Linked DNA regions of Homo sapiens: regions 2, 3, 4 and 5 are each linked to region 1. The links are contacts of gene promoters, found by promoter capture Hi-C in blood cells and fetal thymus (Javierre and others, 2016). All regions are on one chromosome and are shown on one strand. The core of a region is centred on a gene start or on the middle of the fragment in contact, and the rest is flanking DNA. Distances in the headings are between cores, read along the strand shown.

Region 1 (4,627 bases), core at 1,036-3,535:
TTGTCCAAAACACAAAAAACCATGTCAGCAGGGCCTATGGTGGTTCCATGTGTGCTATATGTGTTTGTGACAGGATCAAGCATGTTTTCCTTATCGAGGAAAAGAAAATCATTGTGAGAGTGTTGAAGGCACAAGCACAGGGTCAGAAAGCTAAATAAAAAATGAAGCTTCTTTGAGTAATTAAAATTAAAAGACTTAAAAATATGCTTCCAACCATCAGAAGTGGAAGATTATAAGGAGAGGGATCAATTCTCTCAATGCCTAATCAAAATGAAGGTTCTCACTCACTGAGAATCTAAGTCATATCTGCAATTATAACTGCACCATACTTCATGTTTTTATGTGAAGCATGCAAAAGGGAATAGATTAGAAACCCTATGTTTATGGGACAAAAACTTATAGTTGTACTACAGTGAGTCTGTCTGTATGTGAAGTTATATGTCTTATCCACCGTAATGAATGAGATCCTGTCTGAATGCAGCATACAAATCTTGTCCTGAAAAAAACCCTCGGCCAGGCGCGGTGGCTCACGCCTGTAATCCCAGCACTTTGGGAGGCCGAGGCGGGCATATCACAAGGTCAGGAGATTGAGACCATCCTGGCTAACACGGTGAAACCTCGTCTCTACTAAAAATACAAAAAAATTAGCCGGGCATGGTGGTGGGCACCTATAGTCCCAGCTACTCAGGAGGCTGAGGCAGGAGAATGGCGTGAACCCTGGAGGCGGAGCTTGCAGTGAGCCAAGATCGCGCCACTGCACTCCAGCGTGGGCGACAGAGAGAGACTCCGTCTCAAAAAAAAGAAAAAAACTCTCTAGGGCTTCAGTAAAAACCACACACAAAATTGTCACTGAAGCAGCCAAACGGCCATAAAAATCTCATAGCACATCCATGAAACTTGAGAGAGGTTTCCCAAACTGAACAATAACCCTAAAAAAGTACGTTAACAATATCAGTAATGAGTTGTGATGCTGAAATAAATTTATAAACAATTATTAAGAAACAAATTTAATCAGCCATGCTGGAGAAAAGACTGATCTTTCTCTTTTCTTTATAGAGAATTACAAAATACGCCGGGCGCGGTGGCTCTCACCTGTAATCCCAGCACTTTGGGGAGGCTGAGGCGGGCAGATCACATGAGGTCAGGAGTTTGAGACCAGCCTGGCCAACATGGGGAAACTCTGACTCTACTAAGTTTACAAAAATTAGCCGGGCGTGGTGGTGAGCACCTGTAATCCCAACTACTTGGGAGGCTGAGGCAGGAGAGTTGCTTGAACCCGGGAGGCAGAGGTTGCAGTGAACCGAATTGCACCACTACACTCCAGCCTGGGTGGCACAGCAGGACTGTCTGCAAAAAACAAAAAAAAAAAAAAAAAAAAAAAGTTACAAAATAATTGTTATAGGAAAAGGCAATCAGAAGTACGCAGCCAAAACAAAGGTGGGAAAAATGATCATAAATGGTGCTCCCAAAGTCTGGAAACACAGGTGAATATACATAATGTCGGGGGCGACTTCAATCTTTTAGAAAAAAATAGGTTTCTGGGCTCTCAGACGCCCTGTAGAAGAATATCAGGCAGTCAATGAAAATATTACGGTTATGTGTGTGATGTTTGTGGGTTTTATTAACTTTTAAAATATCATTTGTTTTTTCTTTCTCTTTCTAAATATACATTCACTTTCCTACCCTTCTGCGCGTAACTTTTTGTACTCTTTCCTAATGAGGGTCCCCACAAATTGTATGAGCTGCGCTTCCTGCAAAACCAGGATCAGCCCCGTCTGCAACCTCAAAGTCACTGAATTTCTCTGCAGTCTCAGTTTCCCCTTTTAAAAAAATTGGGAATTTGCCCTGCATTTCCTTAGAGTTGCTGTGAAGGCCAAACGAGATGGTGGTGGGCAAAAGAGCTCTGCCAACCACGCAGGCCCCTGCAAATGTGAAGGGCCTCTGACCTGGAGGGTTGGGTGCTGGCCGACCTCGTCAATCCTCCCTACTCCGACCCCCGCGCGGGGCTCCACTGACCCCGCCCCTGCTGGGCACTGACAGCCGCAGCACCGAACCGAGCGGTGGGGGTGGTAGCACCCGCCCACCTGGAGCAACTGGGATCCGAAAGGATGGGGTGCGGGGGAGGGGAGTTCGGGACCAACGGGAGTTGGGGAGCCTGAAGGGTGGTCGCTGAGCCAGGGCAACTGACGATTCCGGAGGGGGTGGGGCGCCAGGCCTCAGCCCCTCTCCCGGAGCCCTCCAGCCTCCTCAGCAGCGGAAGTTCCGGTGTCGGTAAGCGGAGGTCAGAGGTCAGCAGGAAGTCGATACGTGGCTGCCGTCTGTCCCCGCTGAGGAGGTGCAGCAGCCGGAGATGGCGGCGGTGCTGAACGCAGAGCGACTCGAGGTGTCCGTCGACGGCCTCACGCTCAGCCCGGACCCGGAGGAGCGGCCTGGGGCGGAGGGCGCCCCGCTGCTGCCGCCACCGCTGCCACCGCCCTCGCCACCTGGATCCGGTCGCGGCCCGGGCGCCTCAGGGGAGCAGCCCGAGCCCGGGGAGGCGGCGGCTGGGGGCGCGGCGGAGGAGGCGCGGCGGCTGGAGCAGCGCTGGGGTTTCGGCCTGGAGGAGTTGTACGGCCTGGCACTGCGCTTCTTCAAAGGTGAGCCGGGCCAGCCCCACCCCCGCCGCTTCTGCCCGGCCCCGGGAGCCCGGCGTGGGCTGTGGTCCCCAGGGTGACTGGACCAGACTTGCCCTCACCCACTCATACTGGGCTGTGGTGACTCAAGCGGGGTTCCCTCCTTGGGGGTACCCGAAGTTTGTCACTACCCGCTTGGCCACTAGGTCACACCCCTGACGGGCCTGCAACCTTGGTTTAGCAGTCATGTCCCGCCTCCCAGAGGTTACCGGGACATTTTACCTGATTTAGCTTCTGGGATTTCCAGGAGCCCTGGTGGAAGAATGAGCCCACTTTCTTCCAAAGGATCCCATTCTGGGATTGCCTTTTATTATTATTATTTTTTTAACTGACGCTTTTCTTTTCCTATTTCCCATGGCTTGTCACATCAGAACCCGCCGATTTTTACCCTTAGTGGAAGAAATCTGTCAAGAGGTTCCATACATAGCTTTTCCAGCCATTCTTGGGAACCATAAACTGGAACAGGACTTGATCCCCCGGCAGATTGATGTGGCAGAGAGGAGGAAGTAAAGTGTTAAGCTCATCATCCTCTCCGGCTTGTCAAACTCTTGAGGAGAGATGTCCACTATGTTCTAGTAACTTCTAGGTGGTTAAAATTTTACATTGTAAGCAATGTGCAAGAGTGAATTCTCAGAGTAAGGCCTAACAGTACCTTCTGTGCTTTTCGCATAATTAATTGTTAAATGTCTCTTGTCTTAGAGCAAGATTGTAGTGTGCGGTTTTTTTTTTTTTTAATTGGGTGATTCACTTAGTCGAATGGTGGAGAGACCAATCACATGATTTTTGTCAGTGGGAAAAACTGATGAAAGCCCGTTAGTTTGATTCTTAAAGATACTTAGTCTTGTAGGGCGAATGGACAGGGAGGGACATCAGCAAATGCAACTTTAAAAGTGGTTGCTAGGTTCCACGTACATTCCAGAGCAGCATATTTATGACACTTTCCCCAGAGGGAGTACCTTTTGGAGTACATATTTTACTAGCCAAAGTTGAGTAGTTCAATGTAATGATACACACGGAAGTTGTTTTCTCTCAAAATAACTTTAATTGTGCAAACTAGTGAAAGTTTTATAAATTTTCCAGAACATTTGATCATTTCACATTCAATGACATATTCGTGGTCATTGCACAATGAGTTGAGCCCTCTGTGTACTAACTAGCTTGGGGAATTGGTAATGGCTAATGGGTTTTGGATCATTTGACTTTTAGATCACCGGCTTGAATTTAGAGTTTGCTGTAGTGATGATATATTACCACTTGATAAAAATCAGGTGGTTTCTGTACAATTCATATAGCTACATTCCATCTTAAATTTTTATTCTTGGAACTTATTTTTCAGTAAAGTATATTGTAGCAGAGAGTAAGAGTAGAAATGAACTAATTCCTTTTTTTTTTTTTTTTTGAGCTGGAGTCCTGCTCTGTTGCAGGACTGAGGGAGGCTGAGGCAGGAGAATCACTTGAACCCGGGAGGCGGAGGTTGCAGTGAGCCAAGATGGCACCATTGTACTCCAGCCTGGGCGACGAGCAAAACTCCGTCTAAAAAAAAAAAAAGAATCGCTTCAATATGGGAGGCAGAGGTTGCAGTGAGCCGAGATCATGCCACTGCACTCCATCCTGGGCGACAAAGTGAAATTCTGTCTCAAAACAAAGAAAAAGATTAAAACACTGTAACGTGTAGTATACTTAACATTGTTTGGAGAGTCAGGAAGCTCTGGATTCTAGTTACCTTGTAAACTAGACAATTAACTTTTCCAGAATCAGTTTCATATGTATAAAGGGAGCTGGATTCTATAAAATATGATGTCTCAGATTTAAGATTCAGTGGTCTTAACCTAACAGATTATTTTAACATGTGTCTTGAGTGGTAGGAATCCTGGGGAAACTTATAACTTGGGGCCTAGGTGTTAGTCACCTTAGAGAATAAAGCTACACTGATAGGTGTGGTTCACTCACTTCCT
Region 2 (4,452 bases), core at 1-2,500, 780 kb after region 1:
GAGGTGCAAATTCTCAGAAAAATGCATTCCGGAAAAATCCCAGTGATCCAAAGCTTGCACGTAAGTATTGATTTATGTTTATATTATATATATTACATGAAGGTTTTATTTTTCTTTTTGTCTCGACATCATTAAAAATGTACTTTTATTTTTATATAGATTTAAAAACCATTCATACTTCAACGGGAAAAAATCTTCTAGTTTCTGGATGGTGGGGCTTTGTTCGCCACCCCAATTACTTGGGTGATCTCATCATGGCCTTGGCGTGGTCCCTCCCATGTGGTAAGCATTTCAGAAGAGTGCTAGTTTGACCCTTTTAGCCGCCAGAAAGATGTGTGTGTGTGTCCTTTGTGTGGGACAGTGTGGCCAAGGTGGGTGTGAGTCTTTTTGTCGCCCTTTTCTACTGTGAGGTTGGCCTCTGTAGAAGCTCCTCTGGCTTCTGAGGGGAATTGGGAATTCACAGAGCCTGAAGTTTTACTTTAAGCCTAAAAGCACTATTTTAAGTTTTCAGCTGTGCCTGATAGCTTTTTTCTAAGTAGAATATATAGAAATTAATTCAGCTTCTTAATTCATGATTCAGTGTACATAGATTGGGAAAAACTTTGGTTTTTAAGAAGAGAAAGAGATTCTGTTTTTCTTTTTGTGTGTCTGGCCTCGTGGGGAGCTGGGAAAGCAGGGGAGCAGGGAGAGCTGTGGGAGCTGGAGGTGCTTGGGGAGCTGGGGTGTCAGGGGGAGCTGGAGGTACTGGTGGAGCCAGGGGAGCTGGGGGAACTGGGGGAGCAGGGGGATCTTGGGAAGCTGGGGGAGCTGGGGGAACTGGGGGAGCAGGGGGATCCAGGGGAGCTGGTGGAGGTGGAGGAGCTGGCCCGTGCCTGCTGCCTGTTTGGTGGCCCAGCCTGTGGTGGAAGACAGCAGTTTTTCTTCTTTGCTGGGGGAAGAAGGGCGAGAAATGAAGAGATGTGTATTAACTATGAGGACAGATGTTTTGATTGTGATGGATTGTTAGAATGGATTCATCAGTCTTTGAGTAGCTTCTAATTTAGATACGACCTTCTGCCACTTTCCAGTGGGATTTTACAGACTTGTTTAATTATTCTCATCATTATTAGAGAAAATGAAGTACCTTGTGGTTCCATTTTTAGAGAATTTGGGGGAAAGCAGGAAAAAATACATTGTAGTGATAATAAAAATATCTAATACTGTGTACTATTATTATCCACAGGTTTTAACCACATTCTGCCTTATTTCTACATAATTTATTTCACCATGTTGCTTGTCCACCGAGAAGCTCGTGACGAGTACCACTGTAAGAAGAAATACGGCGTGGCTTGGGAAAAGTACTGTCAGCGTGTGCCCTACCGTATATTTCCATACATCTACTAATGCTCTTCTGGCTTTTCTACAAAATACTCCTGCAATTCCAGCTGCCATTTGCAAAAACAAGGAAAAAAATCCGAAACTTTCTTTTGTTGCACTGACAGGGTCTGTACTTTTTTTTTTCTTTTTGAGTCAGGACTATGGAGCCGAGTAGTTGATCTTTTAATATAGCCGTGTTTACTTGTATTAACTTACAGTTAACATAGGAAAAATACAAGTAAGGATGTGAGAATTTGCATTTTAATGGGAAATTTTCAACCCTTAATCTGAAAACAGAAGACAGTCTTAATATAAATGTACTGTGAAGAATGCTATTGATGTTTATGGTTTCTGATTACTTTTCAAATTTTGATGTTTTTTTGCCAGTTGGCTTTTCTTAAATGAAAACACTGTTCCATTTAAAGTACATTTATGTTTTATTCAGTAAGAGAATAGAATTTTCATTTGTTTTTCTTTAAATCCTTTACTAATTATATAATTTGAAAGCAAAAAGAAGGGCCTATATTAAATGCTGAAAGTGAAAAGTGATGACATTATTAGCAGACACTGCTTAAAGGAGACCATTTGTAGCAGTTGGCTTAACCTCAACTTCTAAAACTACATTGAAAATGTAAATACATAGCTTAGTTTTTTGTAATATATGGTGACTTCAGATTTTTTTGTACAGTATTTTGAATGTGAGATGATTGTCAGGACTAACTGTCTTTTTAACAAAACATTTTCAGTATTTTAAATAAAATTTTGTAAAGTAATGTGAATTAAAAATTTTGGAACAATTAGAATTCATTCACTATTGTATAGAAGATGCTGTTAAAACATAGGAAGGGTATTTTTCTTGATCCAAAGTTTGTGAATTTGGCTTTGCTACCTCAATTGCAGGTGTTTGTTTGCCTTTATAAACTGTTGCAAATAGAAAAAAAATAGAATAAGTATATATTTTTGGAGTAACATCAATATTTAAACATTTTTACACAGATCGGTGTTTGAAAATTTGCCATTTCAGGCTAATATTTTTATATATTTTTGACTTTTTAAAAGTTCATCAGTGTTTTTGCTACTGTTAAGCTTATGCAGTTTATACTGTATTTTTTATGTATCCTTTATATTTACCAAACCTGACTCCCTGTAAAGGAGTGCTGTCTTAAAAACAACTGAAGGGGTTAAAGTCGTTTCTTTTAGTTTAATAGATGTGCATAAGGTAGCTTTAGCAATTAAATTCTAGTGAAGTTGATATAGTCTCATTTTTAATTGTCCTGTAATGGAACAGTAGCAAATTCACTAAACTTTTGTGTTCAGAGTTAAATTGTTCTCAGTACTTTCAATGTAGGGGAATGTAATAAACATAGTGTGTATGTTTGGGTTTTAATTACACATTTTATATATGAGCCATTTAGATATGCAGTGTTAATTCTATACTGCATTTGAAGTGTATGTAACTTAGCTTATGTTAATGCAGTCATGAAGTTGGTTTGCTCCAGCATCCGGTAGTCTTTAAACATTCTTTTAGTGAAATTGTCATTGTTTTATCAGTGCTAATGTGTGCAAGCAGTTTTTTTATTTTGCTTTTCTCCTGGCATCAGAAAGTGGTGGCGTTTTCTGTACTGGATTGCACCAAGGAAGCTTTTGGGGAGGAAGGAAGGACATTAAATTCTTTCCCTGGTAATGAAAAGAGCCCTTTATCAATACAGTGCTGCAATTTCTGGATATCAGCTACACTTTGTTTTTAAGTTTGTTTTTGACATGTTTATTTGGCAAATTTTATAATGAAGTTTTAAGTTGAAAATAAAATGTAGCAACATTTTGATCACTTTGGAGCCTTTTTTTTTTCCCTTTCTTGCTTGAAACTGAGATTTTTGGGACCAAGACAGGAGCCCTTAGATTCCCACCCCTGCCCAGCCTCCTGTTTTCCTAGGATCATCTGTTTGGGACCCCTGGCCAACTGCTGTTTAAAACTCTCAGAATGTTGGAACTCAAAGGGGTTAGTTGGGAATCCTAACTCCCAGAAAATGGTCATGTGTTTAGTATTTGCTGTTTGAGAAAATACAGAAATGCTAAAACTATTGTAGATCCAGTCATACTTTCAAATGCATTTGTATGAATCACAGAAGCATCTGTGCATTTGAAAGACAGTACGTGTGTGAGAGACACACGAGACACACACATGTACTGTGCCTGCTGACCGTGCTTTAGTGCTTGTTTGGATTTCCAGTTGACTCTAAGCCTGAATTGTGAGATGAGATCAGACAGCTTCACCTCTCAATTCTTCCTGCTGCGACGTTACATTGTGACATTACATTGCAAAATGTGGGTGTGTCAGAATATGCACCAATACCAAGTATACGATTTATATTTTGGTGTTTAGTTTTGCACTGTTTGGAGCAAATGATGAAATATAGGATTTTAACAAAAGATACAAGGTGGAGTGTTTCTAGGTGCAATTTACTTAAATATAGATGGTACAGTTTCCTAGACAATTAAATACATGTTTTGTTCATGGCTGTTAAAAGAGTCTAGTGCTGGGTACAAGTCCCACCTTTTCTACCCCCCTTACTATGGAGAGAGGGGACTGTTGGGATCTTCATTTGTGTACACGTGGGTTATGCTTTCTGCCCATGGACCATTGCCATGATAAAGAGACAGTGAGATGTGGCTTCAAATGCTAGCTGTGCTCCCTCTTAGCAATGTGTGTGTGGGCAATTAATCTCTTTGAGCACTGGTTTCCTCATGTATAAAATCTGGCTGATACGTCCACAGAGTATAGAGGGGCCTGAGGATGATATAGGAATTATTAGTGTTCAACATAGTGCTCAGTTATGTTAGCCATTATTAGTAGAATAACATTCTTCCTATAGGAACATTGAATTTACCAAATTCTCAGGATTTGGCTTTTAGTGGTCAGAGAGGTCTAGTGAAGTCAGAACCATATTGCACTTTTTTTTTTTTTTTTTTTAAAGAGATGGGGTCTTGCTTTGTTGCCCAGGCTGGGGTGCAGTGGCGTGATCATAGCTCAATGCAGCCTCAACCTCCTGGGCTCAAGCCATCCTCCTACCTCAGACTCTGAGTAGCTGGGACTAA
Region 3 (4,128 bases), core at 997-3,496, 700 kb after region 1:
TTGGAGGTCTGTGATGCAGGTTTTTCTGTTCCCAACATCAAAAGCTGTGGATTATTTGGTGTGTTCCCCTTTATGTTATCTCTCGATAATTTTTGAGACATCAAGATTTTTTAAAATATCAATACTGGAAAGATGAAACCTTCAAATTAAAACCTAAAATTGATTAGAAAGAAAAGTAAAATATTAATGCAGTAAATTTAGGATGGTTACAGATACTCACCATCAACATAAATAAATGGAGTTCTAGGATAAATTATTTGTGGAATACTAATGGTCAAGTCACATAAGAGTAAAATCTTTTGGTGAGGAGACACATTTGACAACTGCTAAAGAATTAACTAAATTTGTCTTTCTAAATAGTTTTCTTTATAAAGTAACAGAAACATTGTAAAAGGATAAATGACTGTCATAATGACTTAGGATGTTGTAAGAATGTCTGCCACATTTATTGGTTATTTCTGTTGAAATCTGAAGGAATCGATACATCTGAAAATTGAGAAAGGGAAATAGGACTGTCCCCGTTACAGATACTCTGTGATGCACACAACCTTCTAAACGGAAGTGTTAGTATCATTTAAAGCACATAGTAGGCCTTGAGTATTTGCAGATTAACATGCAGAAAAAATCAAAGATGAAGCCCCAATTAAGTGTTTGAACCAAAGAATCACAGTCACTGAGCTGCACCCCCGTTCTGTGAAGCATGTTAAATACTCATAAAGAGCAGAGAGCAGGGCCCGTAGACGCTTCTGGTGTAGGACACAGGAATTCTAGGCAGAGGGAGAAAATTAGGGGCCCCAGTTGGTGGCTGAGAGTAAAAAGAATATACCATTTGAGTAGTGCTGTTCTTTTTCCTCAGTTTTTAAAGACATATAATTCCTAGTAGTTAGGACATCTAAATAGCTCGGTAAACTGGTCAGAGGCGGGAGGATTGCTTGAGGCCAGAAGTTTTGAGATCAGCCTGGGTAACAGGGAGACTCATTTCTACAAAAAAATTTAAAAATTTAGGCCAGGCATGGTGGTGCACACCTGTAATCCCAGCTACTCAGGAGACTGAAGCGGGAGGATCACCTGAGCCCAGGGAGGACGCGGCTGCAGTGAGCCGTTATCATGCCACTGTACTCCAGCCTGGGTGACAGAGCGAGAACCTGTCTCTAAAAAAAAAAAAAAAAAATTCTAAGAGAATATAGCTTTTCATAGAAATTATTAGAAAAGCTTACATATTTCATTAGAGAGCCCAGTTTGTTAGACTACATTTATTCCGTAAAAGTTCTATATACAAATGACAACCCATAGTTTATCATGTAAATCTGATTTAACTGTTCCCTTCAATTCCAAGAAAGATTTCTTCAGCAGTAGATGACAATTCTAAAAGCATAAAGAAATAACTAATAAAGGAGATGGATGATGTTATAGGTTGGTTTGGTTGGGTTTTAGTAAATAGTTATTCTTCTAAGAAGGCTTAGAAAATCGAGAATTGAATAGTTGGTACTTTGAATTCCATAGGAAAAAGCACTCAGAAGAAAAAGTCTACATTGGCTAGTGTTTAGATTGAGAGTTAATTTTCCCATCAAGTCCAAAAGTTTCCATCCAAGTCTATAGAAACTGAGAGAAAAGGTTCTTGGCTTACACTTAAAATACACATTGTTGCAACCATATAAGAGAGATACATTACAGAACGCTTTTAAAAATTTGGTCTCTTAAGCGCCTAACAGTCCATGCTTTAGTCACATCTGTGAAACCTCTTTTCTTTTTTTCTTTTTCTTTTATTTTTTTTTTTAAAGATTAAAGGCATTTTAAAAATAAATGTTTCATGGCCGGGCATGGTGGCTCACGCCTGTAATCCCAGCACTTTGGGAGGCTGAGGTGGGCAGATCACCTGAGGTCAGGAGTTTGAGACCAGCCTGGCCAACATGATGAAACCCCATCTCTACTAAAAATACAAAAAAATTGGCTGGGCATAGTGGTGGGCACCTGTAATCCCAGCTCTTCGGGAGGCTGAGACAGAAGAGTCGCTTGAATCCAGGAGGTGGAGGTTGCAGTGAGCTAAGACCGCGCCACTGTACTCCAGCCTGGGCGACAGAGCGAGATTCCATCTCTAAATAAATAAATGTTTTTCAACGTGTTTTATGTGAGAAATACCAGCTTTTCATTATTACTACCAGTTGATCTCAGGTGTCACTTGGTTGGTTCTGCTGACCGAGGCACTGGGCATTTTAAATATGGAGTTTCCCTCCACCCATTGATCAAGTCTGAGGTTTGTCCATCCTTGGTGGCAGGCTAGCTTAACCATGGATTCACAAACCCCATTTGATTGTCGTAAGTCATAAGGCCACCCCAGTGCCAGTGGTTGGGCATCACAGTGAGTCTGAGGTGATGAATTTGAGTTAGCTGTAGGCTAGTTCCGCAACTCAGCAATAGCCCATGGATGGTTGGTAAAAGACGTTGACTTTGCCACTTAAATTTCCAGGAGAAGAATAGCTTATAGTTTATCTGAGGAAAGTAATTGGGAAGGCTTAGATATTGAGAAGAAAGCCCTGTTAAAATCTAGGTAGCATTTCCTTTCTTCTTTATTACTAGAGGGATGGGAGGTTCAGGCCTGAGTCAGGACTTTACAATTTGGTGTCCTTCCCAGAGGTACTTTGGGCTTGATCATTTTAAGTTTCAATTGCAAAAAAAAATTTTTGACGGAGTGTTGCTCTGTCACTCAGGTTGGAGTGCAGTGGTGCGATCTCGGCTCACTGCAACTTCCCCCCCCTGGGTTCAAAGGGATTTTCCTGCCTCAGCCTCCCAAGTAGCTGGGACTACAGGCGCGTGCCACCATGCCCGACTAATTTTTGTATTTTTAGTAGAGATGGGGTTTCACCATGTTGCCCAGGCTGGTCTTGAACTCCTGAGCTCAGGTGATCTGCCCGCCTCGGCCTTCAATTGCAGAAGTTTTTGAAGGGAGAATATTTGATCCTCACATAAAATGTCCTTGTTTCTGAAAGAAAACATGGTAAAAATTGTTATTGAGTCCATGTCTTTGCCACCTTGTTGGACTTGATTTCCCTTTCTCTGTGTTCCTCCCGCCCTCAGTCTCTCTCAGTCTGTCCTTTTTTGTGTGTGGAGTTGTGGGCAGGTCATTGGACTGGGACTGACTTTACCAGTTTTCAGGCTGTGGGGCTAGTCAGTCATTCTCTCTGAGCCTTCTACCTCTAAAGTTGAGTTCTTTTTTTAAATTCTTTTTGTTTTGTTTTTATTTTTTCCTTGCCACTATACAAGCAAGGATAGATAAAGCTTTTTATTATTATTGTTATTATTATTATTTCGAGACAGTCTCGCTCTGTCATCCAGGCTGGAGTGCAGTGGTGTGATTTCAGCTCACTGCAACCTCTGCCTCCCGGGTTCAAGCGATTCTCCTACCTCAGCCTCCTTAGTAGCTGGGACTACAGGCATGCGCCACCACACCCGGCTAATTTTTGTATTTTTAGTAGAGACAGGGTTTCACCGTATTGGCCAGGCTGGTCTCGAACTCCTGACCTCAGGTGATCCACCCACCTTGGCCTCCCAAAGTGTTGGGATTACAGGCATAAGCGACCGTGCCCATCCCCGATAAAGTTGAGTTCTGAATTTCCTCTTTCACTGTATTCTCGGCAGCTACTGGTTGGTTTATTCTTTTTTTTTAATCTTTTTTGGTTTATTCTTCTTTTGATCTTTGAAGAGAAGGAGAAAAAAGATCTGAGTTTGGCTCTCCCATCTTAAGTGCAGCTTTTAGTTGTTTTATAGTCATAGACGCTATTGCACTGGACAGCATGCATCCTGGATGTAAACAATGCGGAAAAATCAATGGAGTGACCATCTTGGGGTCAGTGGTGTTGCATAAAGCACCAGTGGTGTGCTGTTCTGTGTCAGTTTCCTCTGCGCCACGTGCTTTCACAGTTTGAATTACCAGCATCTCTGTGGTGGCTTCAGTACATTCTCCATTGTGCTTCAACCTGGAAGCACATTCTGCCGTTCAGAAAGACTGATTCCAATCATGTAATGGGACCACACGAGATCCATGCTCCAATTATATGAATAGCAGAAGGTCCATTTGACTCTTGTAGTTCAAGAGCTGTTTCTAAGTAAACAGACTTTCCAGAGCTCGAT
Region 4 (4,362 bases), core at 1,332-3,831, 740 kb after region 1:
CAGCATGCCCACTCTGTGCCCGCTGCAACCTCCTCTGACTCTCCCACTAGACCGGTGCCTGGTACACATGCTCCTGCGTGCATGAACATCGGTCAGCTATGGGTCCTCAAGATGACAAAACCCCCTGCTCCTGTGTCCTCACGGGGATCTGCACCAGCACTGGGCTGAACACTCTCCCTGCAATCTGTCAGTCACGTCTTCTGTAGCATTTTCTTTCTGGCAACAACGGTTGGGGTCATTAAAAGTGTCTTTGAAATGCAACCTTTTAATTACAGGAGGAATACTGCCCCTGGGAAGGGGCCTTTCTTCAAATGCTCCAGGAATTCCTTGGCCAATACACTCCAGGGGGAACACAGCCCAAAACGGGCCTGTGGCTGTGATCAGACCCAGGCATCCTGTCAAAACAGGAGCCTGGGAAGGGGAAGCTCAGGGAAGGAAAGGGGCTCCTCTTGGGAAGAGCAGGGGTGCTGGAGGAAGAAACCCACCCAGTCCCCTTTGGGCCTAACTTAAGATATGCTCACCGGCTCTCTAGCACGCAGTTTTCCCCAGGAGGTCCCTTGGCCATGACCCAAAGTTAGGAACTAGGGGTCTGCGGACGCCTCCTCCTCCCATATCAGAATATGCTCTCCACCGCCTGCACGGTGGCATTGGCTTTCTGGAGCTTTAGGGCCAGCAGGGGCAGCAACCATCTTCCCACGTGTCTCAGGCTGACTGCACACAGCTCCTCTCTTTGTTTTCAGAAGCCAAAAAGAGCCAGGCAGGCCAAAGCGGGAAAAGGGGGGGCTTCTAGGAAACACCTGGGGTGGCTGGGCAGAGGTGAGATGTGACCCTGGCTAGCCTGAGGGCTCCCTGTGGCTTTCGATGGCCAGCCTGTGATAAAGCCCTGAGAACTCCATCTCCTGTGATTTTCCTGGGGTACTGATTTTCCCCTCCCTGGGAGTCTAGGTGTTTGTTTATAATATCCAAGAATGCTAATTGAGATCAAAGTGACTCTGAAGTTCACCCTGGGGGTGCTGCAGTCTGAAAGGTGTTTTGCAAAGACACGATCTTGGTTAGCCCTTCCCTGGCGCTATGCTGCAGGAAGCTTCTCACAGGGAATAGTCCACACTGTAATCTACCTCAGGCAGGTGTGCTGCTGGGAAACTCAGTTAATGATGTCTAATCTTTAAGAGCCATGGGAAACTCAGGAAGACCTAGCTGGACAGATACTACTCAGACATTTTCTCAAATAAGTGTGGCAGAGCCACTCCTCATCTGGTTCTTCCAGTCTTAGTTACCTGCCGAGCCAGGTGTGGCAGGTGTCAGGTACAGGGATCTGGGAGCTCAGAGAGCAGTAGCAGGAGCTTTAGGCTTCAGTTTTTTCTCCCACTTGATGGCCCCAGACGCCTTGGTGAAGTGAAATGCTCCCTGCCTGGGGCTCCAGGATGCCTTCGAGTGACTGCCTTAAGGTTATTGTGTTTTCTTGTGGCTACGCCAGGATGTTCTGCTTCACCAAGCATTTCCATCCTCAATCGTCATGTCCCTACTGAAACTCTGTGTTCTCTTCTCAAGCAATTTTCTGGTAAAAACATTTTCCTGGCTAGCCTGTAAGCATTGCTGTCTAGCTTTTGTGTTAGCACTGATTCAGATGGCCACTACCCACTCTGTGCAGCAGACTTTCAAGACCAAGCAGACTGATAGGCAGGCAGGAGGGTGGAGTTCTCTACCTGCTGGAATGCCCTGAGGCCCAGAGAAGGGATGGACAGGGCATCAGTGTCTCTCCCGTGTCTCTCTTGCCTTCAACCACTGACTCACCCATGTTGTTTCTCACTTAAGTTAAAACACACAGAGGGGCTGTTCTTAGAGAAAGTCTAACTCGGCTGGGCGTAGTGGCTCACGCTTACAATCCAGCACTTTGGGAGGCCGAGGCAGGCAGGTCATCTGAGGTCAGGAGTTTCAGACCAGCCTGGCCAACATGGTGAAACCCCGTCTCTACTAAAAATACAAAAATTAGCTGGGCATGGTGGCGCACACCTGTAGTCCCAGCTATTCAGGAGGCTGAGGCAGAGAATCGCTTGAACCTGGCAGGCAGAGGTTGCAGTAAGCAGAGATCACCATTGCACTCTAGCCTAGGTAACAAGATCGAAACTGTCTTAAAAAAAAAAAAGTCTAACTCTACTTTTGATCAAATTGTATTCTTGCAAACAATTTTGCAAGAAATTGATTGTCTCATTTTGATGCCATGATGACATTTTGGGAAATGTTTCCAAGTTGTTACAGTTTTCTAGCTGCCAGGACCTGGGTGCTTCCTGTGGCAGACAAAGGGTGACTCCGCGCATAGGGTGCCAAGAGGGAGGGCTCCACTCCATTCTGAACTTTTACACATCAGCCTCCTGCAAGATAAGCTTCCTGGTTTTCATATTACAACATGAACCAAACCGCAGAGGTTATGACTTCTCTGTGTTTTAAGCCCTGCCCACTTCCTGCTCACGTGCCTGGTCTGCAACGACCATTTATTTCAGGATGTGAAGTCAAAAGCAAAGCCCAAACAATAGTGAGCGGCTTCTGAGCCAAGCTCGTCAGCCTGCTAACCCACTCAGAACTGCCCCATCTTCAACATGAACAAGTGCTTCTGGAACAAATACCAGCCAATTTCACACAGTCCAGGCCTTTGACATGAAATACGGATCAGCTCTACATTTATGCACGACAATGTCGATTTGTTATCTGTTGGAGTGATTGTATACCTTCGGTGGTAGAACTGAGGTTCCCAGGGGAGCTATTAAGAAAAAAGCTTTTCTGGCACGGGTGCGGTGGCTCACGCCTGTAATCCCAGCACTTTGGGAGGCCAAGGCTGGTAGATCACCTGAGGTCAGGAGTTCGAGGCCAGCCTGGCCAACATGGTGAAACCCCATCTCTACTAAAAATACAAAAATTAGTTGGGCGTGATGGCGCATGCCTGTAATCCCAGCTACTTGGGAGGCTGAGGCAGGAGAATTGCTTGAACCTGAGAGGCAGAGATTGCAGTGAGCCAAGATCGAGCCACTGCACTCCAGCCTGGGTGACAGAGCAAGACTCCATCTCAAAAAAAAAGAAAGAAAGAAAGAAAGAGTTTTTCTGGCTAGGTGTGGTGGCTTATGCCTGTAGTCTCAGCTACTTGGGAGGCTGAGGTGGGAGGATTGCTTGAGCTGGGGGAGTTTGAGGCTGCAGTGAGCTATCACACCACTGCACTCCAGCATGGGTGACAGAGCAAGACCCTGTCTCGGGGGAGAAAAAAAAATGCAAATGCTTTCCTGACAGAACTAAGAGAGTTTGGAACTAGGGTTCTATAAAGTCAGCCCTGGTGTGGGACTTCTGTTATTACAGAGAGTACAGAAAGTGTCCTAAAAGGACAGCTGGGTGGCTGGGCATGGTGGCTCACATCTGTAATCCCAGCACTTCGGGAGCAGAGGTAGGCGGATCACCTGAGGTCAGGAGTTCGAGACCAGACTGGCCAACATGGTGAAACCCTATCTCTACTAAAAATACAGAATTAGCTTGGCATGGTGGTGCATGCCTGTAATCCCAGCTACTTGGGAGGCTGAGGCAGGAGAATCATTTGAACCCAGGAGGTGGAGGTTGCAGTAAGCTGAGATTGCACCATGGCACTCCAACCTGGCCAAAAAGAGCGAAACTCCATCTCAAAAAAAAAAAAAAAAAAAAAAAAAAAAAAGACAGCTGGCCAAACAGCAATAGGCTGATCATGTGTATTTAGCGCACATGGGCACAGCCCATGGCACCAAGGGGGACATCGAGGTCACAGATGAAAAGACTTGCTCTCATAGTGCTTACAGTTTATGAGCCAACAGCCACGTTAAGCAACAGCCTTCACTGGATATATAATTAGGGGTGGGGTAGACACTTTCTACACCAAAGACAACTCTTTAGGCTCCAGATGGGATTCCGGCTGCTCCTGACTGGTCTCTCTTAGTCCTTCATACATCACACACCGTGGACTCTGAGTTACACGCCACTGGTCTCTCTTCCCAGCTCAGCCACTCACTCCGTGTGTCAGCCGGAGCAGGTCATTCAACCATTCTTTCAGTTTCTTCACCTGTGGAATGGGGATAAATGGACCTATCTCACAAGGACATTGAAAGGATTAATAGAGCGATTGCATGCAAAATGCTGGCACCTAGTGGAGTTGTAATCAGAGTAGAAAGACACTATCATGCGTCTCTGTATTCCCAGATACTGGCTGGCCTGCAGCGAGCCACAGCGTTACCATGGGTGGGCCCGTGGGAAGGGGCAAGCATTGACCTAACTCCTCACATTTCCTTATTTTTCTCTCCCCTCTGTTATATCCTTTCTAAATAGTCATTCCAGGATATACAACTCCCTGCC
Region 5 (3,976 bases), core at 1,310-3,809, 760 kb after region 1:
TTCTTTACAAACACACTTGCCTAAAACATCTCTTGTAAGAAAATCCTGTGTGTATCTTGACTCCTGTAGGTGAGTGCATAGTGAGTGACACGAACAAATGTGGGGCTTTTGTGTGCCATCCTGGCTATTTCACTCCTGTGGGGGAATATATTAGGATGTGATTGCACTGTATCCTCACGTTTGACAATTGTGTGTGGATCTTGTGTAAAGTGGGGGTGCACATCATGTTGTTGGCTTCATCTTTTGGAACATTTGTGTATAAGATAATGGTCTTCTAAGAAGAATGCCGGTTCATTTTGTTTGTTTTTCAAGCAAATCTTAATTCTTCTTTTAAAAAGTAAGCTTTAGAGACCTAACAGGTATCCACCATATGTGTTAACTTGTTTAACCCAGAATAATTGATAAGAATCTTTTTGGCACTGGCCTGCGTTTATATTACACAGATACTGTGTATGTGGTGTGTAAGTGCAATGGAAAGATGCCAGTAAATAAGTTTTTAAGAACACGCAGAAACTGTTCAAGGGTCTTTTAAAACCTCAAGTAGCCCCTGCGTCCTGAAGGGCTTGTGTTTCAAAAGTTTATAAAGAGTTTTTTGCAACTTGAGCATCTTCCTGTAGGAAGACATAATTGCCTTCTTTTAACTCTGGCTGACCAGTGTAGGAGAGCTAGTACTAGTAAGAGTGGTTTGATTTTGGGGGGCCTAGGGAGGAGGAGGGGGCTCAAGAGAAGAGAGAAGGAGGGTACATTTCCTTCCTCTTTCTTTGTACTTGGAGGCTCTGAGCTAAATGTTGAAATAGGCAAAGCTGGATGTTGTCACCTTCCGTTTTTATGCCCCTGCTCATGCAGAGGTGTTCACTGCCCCCCTGCTCCCTAAGTGCCCCTCGGGTGACTCAGCCAGGCCTGACTTCATCCCGAAAACTTGTGGGCTCCTCCCCACTACTCCAAGCCCAAACCCATTCATTACCCCAGTGATGCCCAATCTCAGGTAGGTGTAGGGAAGAAAGCTGCCTCTCTTACCTAATGTGTTAATTGACTGACATCCTCTAATCACCAGATAAGTACTTGTGTTTTCTTTCATCTACCAACCTAGCTGCCATCTCTGTAAACTAGTAGAGCTTGTTAAGTTTTTTCACAGACGATTAACAGTGAAAAAATGTGGTGGTTAAGAAAGGCCTCCCTCACCCCGCCTCCCCCCCCACTCTCCCACTACTCCCTTGGGGTAGGTAATTCAACTTTCTCCTTAATTCCAGAGTCTTCAAAGGTTCCTAAATGTTGCTTTTATTGTATCATCAGCTCTTAACAGGAGCCAGTGAGGAATGTACATTGATAGGCTTGGACAATACATCAAGAAGTGCTTAGTTGGTGAAATGAAGGTGATTTGGGAGACAGCTCATATCTGTCCTACTGGCTGCCCCTTGGACGTGGCCCCAGCTAGTTCATGTGGTACTGGGGAAGGTCGGCAGCCCTGGTTTTGTTGTGTGGAAATGTGATTCCGCTGGTCAGCCGATGGAGCGGCATTACTGTCTGGCAGCTGGAAGTACCCAGCTATCAATTGATATTTCAAAAAGGGTGGCAGACAGGCCTCACGTAAGTGGCAGTTCTTGCAGATTGCTTGTGGATTCCTAGAGTATTGTGGGGCTTGTGGGCCATGTTTTGAATCAGAGGAAAAGAATGTTATAATTGGGGGTTGATGGCTGCTGTAGGCTTGAGAGAAGTGAGCTTGGATGAAGGCAACCACCCTGGCTTAGGTGGGTGGTTGGCAGAGTTACTTGGTATGCATTTGTACTTTAGCTGTAAGAGTTGAAAGCTAAATAACCCCCAAATTTATTCATTACAGACTTGGAATTATTTTTCTTCCTATTGTTGGGTTATAGTCATGTTAATTGTACATCCTTGATTTTCCCAGTCTGGTTTATAGTTTGCTGTTTTTAATAAAGGCAATTTGTTAAAAATACAATTAAATGCATTTTTAAAGCCATTGTAAATTGATACGCAAATTTACAAATGAGAAAATGTGTTCTTTGTGAGATTGTGCCTCATTTTTTGATTAGCGAGAACTGTGATCACGGTAGGTGGGTAACATTTTACATAGTGTGAACTTATGGCGCCTATATACATTGTTATAATTAATCTTTAGTGTCACATAGATAACGCAGTGGCTAAATCATCCTCTCAAATGATTCCAAATGAGATTGAATGTAGCCTTTCTGGCCCTAAAATCCTGACCAGTCAATTCTGGAAAGTTGTATTTTAGTGATCAGCCTGTGGAAAAAGACGAATACATAAATGTGTATGTATTGACTCAAATTTTTTTCTTTAAAACTATTCAGGTTAATTATAGAAAATGCCAAGTAGGAAATTTGCCGATGGTGAAGTGGTAAGAGGTCGATGGCCTGGGAGTTCACTTTATTATGAAGTAGAAATTCTGAGCCACGACAGCACCTCCCAGCTTTACACTGTGAAGTATAAAGATGGAACAGAGCTTGAATTGAAAGAGAATGATATTAAGGTAAGAGCTCCTTTGGTTTATCAGAGTGTGTTTACAGTAAGTGGGAAATAACTCTAAGTATGGTTTCTAAGCTCAGGATAGTCAGTTCAGCTCGGTTTGAAGGCAGAGGATTGAGCTCTTGCTTTGGGTCACATACTGTTTTTGGCTCTGGGAATGTATGAATGAGGCATAGTCCTTGTTCCCAAGAAGCTCACACTTACTGGGAAAGACAGCCATTTGCATCTGTTGGTCCCCTGGGTTTACTACGTTCTGTGTCTGGAGTTTGCTGTGGGTGGTGTTGAGTGTATCAAGGGTAGAGAAGAGCCCTGGGCTTCAGGGGAGGCTTTCAGAGGCAGTGACACCTAGCCAAGTGCTGAGAACAAACAGGAAAAACAGCAGTTGATGGGGCTGTTTCTGCAGAGAGGGCAGTATGCCAAAGTCAGGGGTCTGGGGGACACAGTCAGCCAAGTGCTGGAAGGGGGTGGTAGGGGAGGGCTAAGCAGGAGCCAGGCTGGGGGGGCTTTTATATTCCATGCCCAAGGGTTTGGGCTTCATCCTGAACACCAAGGATTTAATCAGGAGAGTGACATTAATTAGATTCGAGTCTAGCCCAGGGCTTTTCAACCTGTCTGGTGAGGGCCTGGGTTTTAAGATATCTGATCCGTAGTATACAAACATTTATATAAAATGCCATAAAAATGAGTTACTAGAAAAATAAAGACATACACAATAGACGACTCACAGTTTTACTATCAGATTCGATAGATATGAGATTACTTTGTCAAAATGCTATAAACATTTCCATACACCTATTTCTCAATTTTGGTACTTGCACAGATTAGTAACGAGCATTTCTAGGACCCATGGCTGAGGATGACACTTCGAGTGCTCTAGACCAGGAATAAAGCACAGAAAGTAAATATTTTAGACTTTATGGGAGCGGCTCCAGGCAGTATGGAAGGGAGCAGACATGGCAGTGTTCCAGTACAACTTTATGGACAGTGAAATTTGAATTTTGGATAATTTTCACACTTCAGGAAATACTGTTCTTTTGATTTTGTTTGTAATCATTTAAGAATGTAAAAGCCATTCTTAGTAGGAAGGCCACACAAAAATTGGGGTGAGGGACTTGGCCTGGGGCGTAATTTGTCTACATCCCTAGAAGCAACATAAGGAGATTCGGAGTAGGTGGGGACACAGTGAAACAGTTCCCAGTCATCCAAGCTCATGTTTTATTTTCAAGATCTGCTTATGTGTTTTGTTCAGAGTGAAACTGTGGTACTGTTTTTTTTTTTTTGGTCTGTGTGCTTATTTATTTTGTCCTGTCGTCTCAGTTTTAATCCATGTTAATTATTACCCTTCTTGCATATGGTGTTGGAAATAAGTACAGCTAATTGGTTTAGATACATTCGTTTCATGGAAATACCTTCAAAGAACAGGAATGGAAAGGCTGCATTTGTCTCATGAAAGATGGATCATTATGAAAGC

The links. Contacts are between HindIII fragments. The CHiCAGO score rates a contact against its expected background, and 5 or more counts as called.
Region 2: a fragment that was not itself captured here is called in contact with the fragment with the promoter of ACBD3 in region 1 in 1 of 17 cell types (neutrophils); the score reaches 5.8 in neutrophils.
Region 3: a contact is called between a fragment that was not itself captured here and the fragment with the promoter of ACBD3 in region 1, in 1 of 17 cell types (neutrophils). The highest score is 5.4, in neutrophils.
Region 4: a contact is called between a fragment that was not itself captured here and the fragment with the promoter of ACBD3 in region 1, in 4 of 17 cell types (activated CD4 T cells, naive CD8 T cells, total CD4 T cells and 1 more). The highest score is 7.8, in activated CD4 T cells.
Region 5: a fragment that was not itself captured here is called in contact with the fragment with the promoter of ACBD3 in region 1 in 3 of 17 cell types (total CD4 T cells, non-activated CD4 T cells and naive CD4 T cells); the score reaches 7.8 in total CD4 T cells.

Annotation. Positions count from the first base shown.
Region 1 is chr1:226,184,399-226,189,025 of GRCh38, reverse strand. ACBD3 (acyl-CoA binding domain containing 3) reads left to right here and starts at 2,285. Exons shown (of 8, transcript NM_022735.4): 1 at 2,285-2,636. The coding sequence starts at 2,351. It overlaps LOC101927247 (a long non-coding RNA gene), which reads right to left and starts at 1,130. Exons shown (of 2, transcript XR_001738504.2): 1 at 1,093-1,130. It also overlaps the pseudogene RPL34P7. RefSeq lists silencers at 2,384-2,678, 2,315-2,794. The HindIII fragment of the contact is 12,408 bases long and covers 170-4,627 here.
Region 2 is chr1:225,400,234-225,404,685 of GRCh38, reverse strand. It overlaps LBR (lamin B receptor), which reads left to right. Exons shown (of 14, transcript NM_002296.4): 12 at 1-60; 13 at 160-282; 14 at 1,223-3,184. The coding sequence ends at 1,383. Among named protein-coding and RNA genes, the nearest start is that of LBR, 26 kb to the left of the region's middle. The HindIII fragment of the contact is 2,389 bases long and covers 56-2,444 here.
Region 3 is chr1:225,489,127-225,493,254 of GRCh38, reverse strand. ENAH (ENAH actin regulator) reads left to right here. Exons shown (of 14, transcript NM_018212.6): 14 at 1-4,128. Among named protein-coding and RNA genes, the nearest start is that of LINC02765, 23 kb to the right of the region's middle. The HindIII fragment of the contact is 2,064 bases long and covers 1,215-3,278 here.
Region 4 is chr1:225,443,140-225,447,501 of GRCh38, reverse strand. No RefSeq gene overlaps it. Among named protein-coding and RNA genes, the nearest start is that of LBR, 17 kb to the right of the region's middle. RefSeq lists enhancers at 1-229, 230-790, 791-1,351, 2,247-2,296, 2,797-2,866 and a cis regulatory region at 2,153-2,692. The HindIII fragment of the contact is 389 bases long and covers 2,387-2,775 here.
Region 5 is chr1:225,422,444-225,426,419 of GRCh38, reverse strand. It overlaps LBR (lamin B receptor), which reads left to right. Exons shown (of 14, transcript NM_002296.4): 2 at 2,331-2,509. The coding sequence starts at 2,345. Among named protein-coding and RNA genes, the nearest start is that of LBR, 3.6 kb to the left of the region's middle. The HindIII fragment of the contact is 4,429 bases long and covers 345-3,976 here.